Linked DNA regions of Homo sapiens: region 2 is linked to region 1. The links are contacts of gene promoters, found by promoter capture Hi-C in human tissues and cell types (Jung and others, 2019). All regions are on one chromosome and are shown on one strand. Each heading gives the region's core, a stretch centred on a gene start or on the middle of the fragment in contact. The rest is flanking DNA. Distances are from core to core; before and after follow the strand shown. Region 1 holds the start of PRSS21 (serine protease 21). Region 2 overlaps SRRM2 (serine/arginine repetitive matrix 2).

What was found. The method cuts DNA at HindIII sites, captures the fragments that hold promoters and counts their contacts. A contact is called where the count stands out against the background at its distance.
Region 2: a fragment that was not itself captured here is called in contact with the fragment with the promoter of PRSS21 in region 1 in 3 of the 25 tissues and cell types used here (IMR-90 fibroblasts, mesendoderm cells and thymus).

Annotation. Positions count from the first base shown.
Region 1 is chr16:2,814,876-2,819,558 of GRCh38, reverse strand. PRSS21 (serine protease 21) reads right to left here and starts at 2,322. Exons shown (of 6, transcript NM_006799.4): 1 at 2,227-2,322; 2 at 2,103-2,129; 3 at 1,593-1,758; 4 at 590-882. The coding sequence starts at 2,290. RefSeq lists silencers at 2,005-2,064, 2,175-2,454 and an enhancer at 4,120-4,620. The HindIII fragment of the contact is 10,567 bases long and covers 1-3,970 here.
Region 2 is chr16:2,763,645-2,768,327 of GRCh38, reverse strand. SRRM2 (serine/arginine repetitive matrix 2) reads right to left here. Exons shown (of 15, transcript NM_016333.4): 11 at 67-4,683. Among named protein-coding and RNA genes, the nearest start is that of ELOB, 11 kb to the left of the region's middle. The HindIII fragment of the contact is 3,944 bases long and covers 567-4,510 here.

The DNA.
Region 1 (4,683 bases), core at 1,073-3,572:
GAACACGCCCAGTCTGGGGCTGCCGGGGCTCCTCCGGATGCTGGGCCCACTTCTTTCAGGGCATGTGTGTTGGGGGACACGCAGGTGCCAGGGCAGGCCCACCAGAGGAACCCCCAGAGGGGTTTCCGTGGGAGCTGCGGTTGAGCATGGCTTGGAAGTTTCTGGGGAGAGGAATGGGCTCAGTGCTGCAGGAGAATCGGCCAGAGCTAGGGTGGGTGTGGGAGGCATGGAGAGGCAGCCCAGGAGCCTGATGCCTGGGGCATTGGTGAGCACTGGGGGAGGTGGAAAGATGCAGGAATAAATCCAAGTATGAGGTTTATGTCGCCAAGCCCTCCAGAACCCCTCCACCACCGCACCACCCACAGGCCTGCGCCAAACTGGCCTCCCTCTCACACTCTCCTTCTGGCCCCCACAGCCCCTGGAAGGGAGAGAACTGGGTGTTTGGTCCCTGCCCTGGCAGGTGAGGAGAGACTGCAAGCAAGAGGGGCATAGCCTGCACCCCCAGACCAAGCAGGGGGCTATTGTGCCTATGCAGGGGAACAGGTGAACAAAGACAGTTCCTCCCTGACCCGCCTGTCCCCAGCCTCACCCTCATCCTCTTTGATGTACCCCCAGCCAGTCACCCAGCAGTCTGTCCGGTTCTCAAACTCAAATGTGGAGGCCTGGAGACAGATGGGCTGGATGTGTTTAGTGTAGGTGACAGGTGCAGACAGCTTCACCAAGGCAATGTCATAGGGTGAATTCCCCAGGTAGCGAGGGCTCAGATAGATATTCGATACGAAGTAACGGGTGTAGTAGGCCTGCAGGCTCCAGAAGGATGGCATGGAAGTCAGCTGGCCAAACTGGACCATCCACCCGGAGGGATCACTAAGGTCACTATAGCTGGCAGAAGAGAAGAGAGCAGTCAGGGGCCCTGGATGGAGGGCTGGCTACCTGAGCACAACTGGGGTCCAGTGCAGGAGGGGAAACTGTGGTGTTGCTGCTACTTGCTAACACCCAGGGTCCCCTGCAGAAATGAAGGAGCCCAGACAGACCACAACCAAAGTCCTAGGACCTGCTCCTGCAGCAGAAGGGTGGGGTCTTGTCACCTCCCAGAGCTGTCCCAAGGAGCCTTGCATTGAGCCAAGGCCTCCAGGGGCACCCCCATGCAGCCCAAGGAGGAATGGGGAGATGCACCACGCCAATGTGGGATTGGCAGGATGGAGTCCACACAGCGGCCCGGGGGTGCTGGCCTTGGCTCAGTGCCCCACACTGTACCGCACCGTCCACCAGGAGGGGGGATGAGGGTGGGATGGTCAGTGGTGAACTTTGGGTTGAAAGAAAAAGGGAGAGAATACCCAAAAGTGTGTGGAAATGTTCTGGAAGAACATTCTGGAATAACCTGAACAGGGTTCCCTCCAGGAGACCCAAAGGGAACTGGAGTGGGTGTAACCGGCTGCAGCACAGCCTGGGGCTCAGGAGAACACCAGGCCGCATCCACGCACAACTTTCACGCCCAAGTCTGGCATCAGACCAGAGGTAAAGTTCGGTGGCACTCCCTCCAGCCCTGTTCCTGCCCGTCCCCGCACCCCTCCGTTCGCACCCCCACTCACGTTTCAAAGCAGTGCGCCGCCGTGAGTGCCCAGCGGTGGCTGAGCAGGCTCACTCCGCATACGTGGGAATCCCACAGGCGCAGGCTCCCCTGCCACGGCCAACGCCCGAGTTCGGCGTCCTCTCCACCCACGATGCGCGACGTGATGACCCGTCGGCCGCATGGTCCTCGGATGGTCAGAGGAACTGCTGAGCCGCGGGAGGCAGCCCCCCAAGCCCGACCTCTCCCTTTCTCCCCTTCAACCCCGTCCGGGAAAGCACGTTTTTGCCCACCCAGGGTCCCCTCGCGTGTGTGCAGCAGGAAGTAGGTGACACTGGAGATCCTCCCACGTGCTCTGCAGGGCCCGCCCATCCCCCTCCAGCGTCCGTTAGTTACTTTCCACGCCAACAGAGTTCTCGATCCCGGGGGCGGGGGCGAGAGAGCAGTAAAGGCCCCCCTCTACCCCCTCACCGCCCCCCGTCCACCTCGGCCCAACGGCCCTGGCAGGAATCGCGCGTCCTGGGCGCCCTACCTGATAACGGCGCCGCCTCCTGCGACTCTGCGGGAGACAAGAAGTGACTCCCCGCGGCCTCCACCTCCCGTCCTCCCCACCGCTCCCCCGCCTCCCCATCCCGCCAGCAGCGCCCCGAGCTCACCCGGCTTCCTGAGTCCAGCCCGAGCCAGCAGCAGCGCCAGCAGCAGCGCCCCGCGCGCGCCCATGGCCTCCTCTCCCGCGGCCTGACGCCCCCTCTGCCTCCTCTCGCGCCGGGCCCGGGGCGCCCCCTGGGGGCGGGGCGGGGTGGGAGCTCTGCCCTCTACTCCCAGCTTCACCCTCCTGGGCCCAAGGGCTGTTTGGGGCCTCTCATGCCTGGCAGCGCCCTGGCTTTCAGCCCCTAGGGGCGGGTCTTCAACCACACTTCTTGATGTGGCCCAGACCCGGTGGACCCCACAGTCCCTTTCTTGTCTGCAGCCCAGGGGTCCCGGCTGCCCTCTTGGTGACCCCGTCCTCCACCTACAACCTCCTCCAGCACCAAGGGCCTGGCCCTGAGCCAGGAGTCCCCTTAAAGCCTGGGGACCCCCTGAAGGCCGGGTGGGGCCTAGAGGCATGGCTGCTCCTTCATGGGACCTTCTTGGGAAAACAGTGGTCCTCGGCCCGTTCCACCCAGAATGGGGATCTCCCCAAGTCTCTGCCCAGGCTGTCCCCACTGCGGGCTCCCGCTGGGCTCTCTTCACTTCTCTGGAACAATTTTTTTTTTTTTTGAGATGGAGTTTCGCTCTTGTCGCCCAGGCTGGAGTGCATTGGCGTGATCCCAGCTCACTGCAACCTCCACCTCCTGGGTTCAAGCGATTCTCCTGCCTCAGCCTCCCAAGTAGCTGGGGTTACAGGCGCGCGCCAGCACACCTGGCTCATTTTTGTATTTTTAGTACAGACGGGGTTTCGCCATGTTAACCAGGCTGGTCTCCAACTCCTGACCTCAGGTAATCCGCCCACCTCGGCCTCTCAAAGTGCTGGGATTACAGGCATGAGCCACCGCGCCCAGCTGCAATTCCACTTCTGAGCATACACCCAAAAGAACTGAAAGGAAGGTCTTCAAGAGATATTTGTTTTTGGTTTTTTGGGGGGATTTAGTTTTGTTTGTTTTTGAGATGGAGTCTTGCTCCATCGCTCAGGCTGGAGTGCAGTGGTGCGATCTTGGCTCACTGCAACATCTGCCTCCTGGGTTCAAGTGATTCTCCTGTCTCAGCCTCCAGAGTAGCTGGGATTAGAGGCACCTGCCACCATGCTTAGCTAATTTTTGTATTTTTAGTAGAGATGGGGTTTCGCCATGTTGGCCAGGCTGGTCTTGAACTTCTGACCTCAGGTGATCTGCCCTCTGCGGCCTCCCAAAGTGCCAGGGTGAAGGTGTGAGCCACCCCACCCAGCCTTCAAGAGATATTTGTATACCCATGTTCATAGCAGGATTATTCACAGTAGCTGACATGAAAGCAACCCAAGAATCCATTGACCACTGAACAGATCAGTGAAAATGGGAATGTACAACCAGAACCTGGGAATCCCGCCTCCCTCAACTTGAAACTTGGGAATAGCGTATTCTACTTTCAACACTTGCACTAGTGGAAGGTTAATTACATGAAAGATTAGGCAAAATGTGTGGTTAGGCGTTCTGGTTTTCCAATAAAAGTATTAAGTTTCTTTGGGGAAAGTACAGATAAAATGCTTAGCACAGAGCATGGTACCAACGGGAACTCAATGAGGGCGCAGCGGGTGTGTGGGAGCTTCGGGTTTCAGGAGCACAAGGCTGCGGTGCCTTCCCTCAGGGCCTCCTTCCCCAGCAGCAGCTGCTCAAGGACAAGTCACATGCACAGCCTGGCCTTGGCCTGCTGGGTTGGGGCAAAGGTCCCTGGGCTTCTGATCCTGCCCCTCTCCCAGCCAGCAGGACGTTCCCTCTGGTTCCTGAGTCCCAGGGATCCGCTGAGGCCCCTAGGAGGTGTCAGCTCCTGGTTTTGCCCAGGGTCTCAGTCAGGCCAGTCCTACCCGGAGATCTGAGCCAGGGACTCAGGTTCTTGCCTCCAGTGAGGCTGGGGGCTTCCCGCAGAGGCCAAGCCTGGCCCGGGGGCTGCAGGGAGGCCCTGGCTGCTGCATGGGCTGCAGATGGAGACTCTCTTGTCTGCTGTGCCTCAGGCTGCAGAGTCACAGAGGGGTCTTCCCAAGCCCCACACCTGGAGGGCAGGGAGGACAGGGACTTGTGGTCCTAACCCGACTCCTGACACATAAGGGCCAGCCGGCCCGGAGCCACCTCTGCGGGCAGGAGAAGGCCTCATTGTTCCCTTCTCCTGGCAGAATGAGGACTGGGGCGTGCCCGGGGCAGGAAATAAATGCTCAGTAAATCCCTCTCTTGGGAGCCCTGATCCCAAGGGACAAAGGGCCTGTGTTGAGTCTCCCTGGGCACGGGCTCGGGGCCAGCACTTGGGCCATGGCAGATGGAGGGTGGGAGGAGGGTGCCTCCCACCAGGTGGGCTTCTTCCCCAGGTCAGGCATGCAGGTGAGGAGCGTCCTCGTGTGTGCATGCCCCCTGCGTGCAGGAGAGGCTGGGCGGGTGTGTGTGTCTGGG
Region 2 (4,683 bases), core at 1,289-3,788, 51 kb after region 1:
CCCCACTCCCCAACCCATCCCCAATACCTCCCCCACTGAAGATTTCTAAAAGTCAAGCTCCCTCACCTCTTCAGTGCCACCTCAGGTTGCACAGGAAGGCTAGAGCCCTCTGAGTCACTAGAACTGGAGCCAGAGGAGGAGGAGGACGACGACGACGATGATGAAGAAGAGGAGGAGCTAGAGGACGACGACGACGAGGAGGAACTCCGCCGCTCCTTTGCTGGCTGCAGGGCGGCTAATGCAGAAGGCTGCTGGGCCCCAGTAGAGGCAGGTGGCTCCCCCACATCAGAGTGGGGCACCCCAGGGGCAGGGACAGAGAGCATGCCATTGTGATCACCAGCAGAGGACGTGGTCGTTGCCACTGCCCCAGAGGAAAGGGACTGAGACCCTGCTACAGGGGTGGTCTGGGCAATCAAACAACGGGATTGGTCTGAAAAAGCAGAAGGCACAGGAGACCTCGGCTGATCCTGTGCTGGAGGGAGAAGAGACTGTGAAGGAGCCTGGCCCATTCTAGAGGAAGGGGAGGGAGCCCGTTCAGAGGTCATCCTAGATTGGCTTGGGGCAGACGGTGGTGTTCTGGACCTAGCTCGGTCAAGGAGCGGTGGTGAGGTTCTGCCACTGACACGCTCGTAGGCAGAAAGGGGCACCCTGGGGCTGGTGAGGTTTGCACCAGACAATGCTGGAGCCATCCTAGCACTGGTGAGGCTCGCGGGGGCCAAGGCTGCGGCGGTTCTGGAGCCGGCAATATTCACAGGAGCTGTGGCATGTGCAGACCGAGGACCCACCAGGTTTGCAGAGGCTGGAGCCTGTGGTGTTCTGGAGCTGGAGGGATAGTTTGCAGCAGTTGGTGGTGTGCCAGAGCCTGTGAGACTCAGAGCTGCCAAGGCAGCTGGGGTTCTGGCCCCTGCTAGGTTCACAGCTGGGGCTGTGGGAGTGCGAGGGTCAGCCAGGTTCACAGCCGAAGGTGCCACCGCTGTTCTGGGGCTGGCCAAGTTCATGGCCGCTGCTGCAGCTGGCGTTCGAGAGTCAGCCAGGTTCACTGCTGTTGGAATGGCAGGTGTCCTGGCGCTGGCTAGGTTCATGGCTGCCGCAGAGGCTGCAGGAATCCTGCTGGCAAGGTTGGCTGCTGGTGCGGTTCTGAGACTCATGAGAGGCACCGGGGCTGGAACCTGGGACATTCTTGCAGCAAGGCCAGCAGCAGACATGGACGGAGGAGGCCGAGCGGTGCCAAGACTGATAGCTGTCAGGGCAAGTGCAATCCTGGACTGAGCATGATTTTCTGGCACAGATGTTCTCTGGTGGTCAGGTATTCGGGGACCTGGACCATCCATCATGGAGCCGCCGGCTTGCTGCAGGACAGACATGGGTGTTCTAGAGCTGCCAAGGGGTTCAAGCATTCCAGGTGATCTGCAGCGATCAAGAGGTGTTGGGGACATGCTAGGACGACTGAAGCAGCTCATTCTGGAACTGTTGAGTGCTACTGGAGGTGTCCGTGAACCAGAATGATTTCTTGTTGCTGGAGGAGTAGCAGATCGTGAACGATCAGAACTACTTCCAGATGCAGAACGCCTGCGGATGGCTGGAGGAGATCTTGTTAAGGACCGTTTACCCCGAGCTGTTCGTGGAGTACGGGATCTGGAGCGGCGGCGGATAGCAAGTGGTGAGCGACTTCGAGAACGTTTGCGTGGTAACAGTGGCGTTCGAGATCTAGAGCGGCGCCGAATAGCTGGAGGTGTCCGGGACCTAGAGCGGCGGCGTGTCACTGGTGAGGTTCGAGAGCGGGACCTTCTTCGAGTTACTGGAGATGTGCGAGATCGAGATCTCCTTCGGGTGACCGGAGATGTTCTGGATCTTGATCTTCTGCGAGTGATAGGCGAAGTTCTGCTTCGAGATCGCCTCCTGGTTACTGGTGGAGTCCTGGATCTGGACCTTCTGCGAGTCACTGGTGGAGTTCTAGAACGGGAGCGGCGGCGTGTTGTTGGCGTTCTAGACCTTGAACGACGGCGGGTTACTGGTGGCGTTCTGGATCTGGATCGCCTTCTGCTCACTGGGGATGCTCTTGACCGGGATCTTCGTCGAGTCACTGAAGTCCTGGACCTTGACCGTCTCCGGCTGACTGGTGAAGTTCGAGATCTGGACCTACGTCGGCTTATCAGGGGGGTTCTGGACCTGGATCGCCGGTGAGTGGCTGGAGAGGCTCGAGATCTAGAGCGTTTCCACGGGGCTGGTGATGTGCGTGAGCGAGAACGCTTCCGACTGGTTGGGGGTGTCCGAGAGCGGCCTCTTCGGCGTCGAGAGGAGGTCCGGGAACTTTCCTGCCGGGCAGGTGACCTTGAGTGATAACCAGAGCCTCCCCTCCGCCGCCGAGTAACCCGCGACCTTGACCGGCTCCGCTGTCTTCGCCGAGAGGTTGACTGAGAAGATCCAGACCTATCTCGACGTCGGGTTGTTCTTGTTTTCTCTCTCCTTGAGCGGGAACGGGACCTCTGGAGTCCACGAGGCTTTGGCGAAGGAGAGCGGCCTCTCCTTGAGGTTGTCTTAGTGCGTGGAGATGAAGCTGAGCGCCGTCGGCGTGAAGACCTCGATTTTTCGGCTGGCTCCGGGGAAGACACTGAGGGACTTCTCCGGTGCCTTGGGGGAGTTCTAGAGCGAGTTTCTGGTGAGGATGAGGCAGAGCGGCTTCTACGGGACAGTCTGGCCTTCCTTGTTAGCTCCGGAGATGATCGAGAGCTGCGACGTCGAGGTGGTGTACGAGACTTGGTCTTGGGCTCTGGTGATGACCTGGAACCTCTGCGAGCAGTTCTGGATTTGGGCGGATGTTCAGGAGAGGACTCGGTACTGCTGCTTCCTTCAGGAGAAGGGCCTCTGCCTTTGCTTGATGAACCTGATCTGCTTCGTCTGGGAAGGGCCCGAGGGGCTGGAGCTTTAGGTTCAGGAGAGGAATCAGAACCACTCTGTGCCCTGGGTGCTGCTCTTGGCTTATCTTTCACTTCAGGGGAGGAACCAGACCTACTGCGCCGAGGGGATAGTCGAGATTTGCTGTCAACCTCTGGAGATGATCCAGACCGACTCCTCTGCCGAAGTGGGGTTCTTGTCTTGGCTTTAGAATCTGGAGAAGAGTCTGACTCACTTCTTTCCTGAGGGGATGCACTGGGTTTCACATCAAGTTCTTGAGAGGATCCCGAACGACTTCTCTGCCCCAGGGGAGTCCGAGCCACAGTTTTCTGATCAACTGATGATTCTGACCCGCTTCTTTCTCTCTGGGGGGTAAGACACTTGTTGTTGAGCTCTGGGGATGATGGAGAACGACTCCTCGGCCTAGGAGTCTGAGGCAAAGCTTTCGGTTCTGGGGAAGAATCACATTCGCTTCTCCCTCTAGATGGCGTTCTAGGTATATCTTTCATTCCAGGAGAGGACCCAGACAGGCTGTGCCTCGAGGGAGTCCCAGACCCATCTCTAAGTCCTGGAGAAGACCCAGACCTGCTTCTCCTTGATGGAGTTCTGGGTAAACCATCTTTCATTTCAGGAGAAGATGCAGAACTACTTCTTTCTCTCGAGGGTGTTCTGGGTACAGCATCAAGCACAGGTGAAGAGATGCTCTGATTTGAAGACATCCCTGCCTTTTCCACTGCATCTGGGGATAACTCAGAACTGCTGTGTCCAGAGGATCTTGTCGATTGTTCTTTCATGTCTAGAGATGGATCTGTTTCCAGCTGATTAAGAAACGGTCCATTCAAATCTTCTTTAACCTCAGAAGAAAATCCAGTATTCATTTCTGTACCAAGTGGGCCTGAGTTTCTAAATTCTAAAGGTGATCCAAAGCTGTTCTCCCTGAGTGGGGAGTTAGACAGTTCTTTATGTTCTGGAGAAAAATGTGGCCCACCCCAAGATGAGGCCATTGAAGGGACTTCTACTGCTTCCAAAGAAGCCTGTGACTGGCTCTGATCAAGAGTCAAAGACACAGCAGGCCTTTCTTCTACTTCAGGAGATGATTCAAAGTTACTTGTGGACATTTCTTTAAGTTCTGAAGACAAATGAGACAGGATTTGGCCTGCGGGTTCTTCAGACTTCTCTACCACCTCCATTAACTCTTCATCTTGGCTTGACGTAGGCAATGCACTATTTTGCTCTTTTGTTTCTGGAGATGACCCAGCACCACTTCTTTCCCTTGGCGGGGTTCTAAGTGTGTCTTTGAATACCAGTGAAGACTCAGGCCTATCCTGTACTGGAAAGGGACTAAATTTGTCTTTCTGTCTAGGAGGTGATGCAGTAGCATCCTCCTGAGGGGGTAAGGCCATTTTCTCTTTTGATTCAGCAGTCTCCAATCTACTCTGCCCCAAGAGAGAATTCGAGTCCACTGTAGGATATGAAGAAGAGTCAGACTGGAACCTGCTCTGCTCAGGAGACATTCCAGATTTCAACATAGGACTCGCTGAGAACTCACCTCTATCTTGTCTTATTGGAGATCTGGATGCCAGCTCAGTGACTGGAGATGAAGACCTGGACCGACCTCCCTTAGGTGATGTTTGAGATTTGCTCTGCAGAGATGGTGATTCTGAATGACTCTGTCTCACTTCTGGACTTGAAGTATCAGATCTGTGGTCTGGTGAAGTTTGAGATTGTCCTTTCAGTTGCAGAGATGAGACACCAAAATAGCTCTCGCCTGGTGGTGTGCTAGATTTT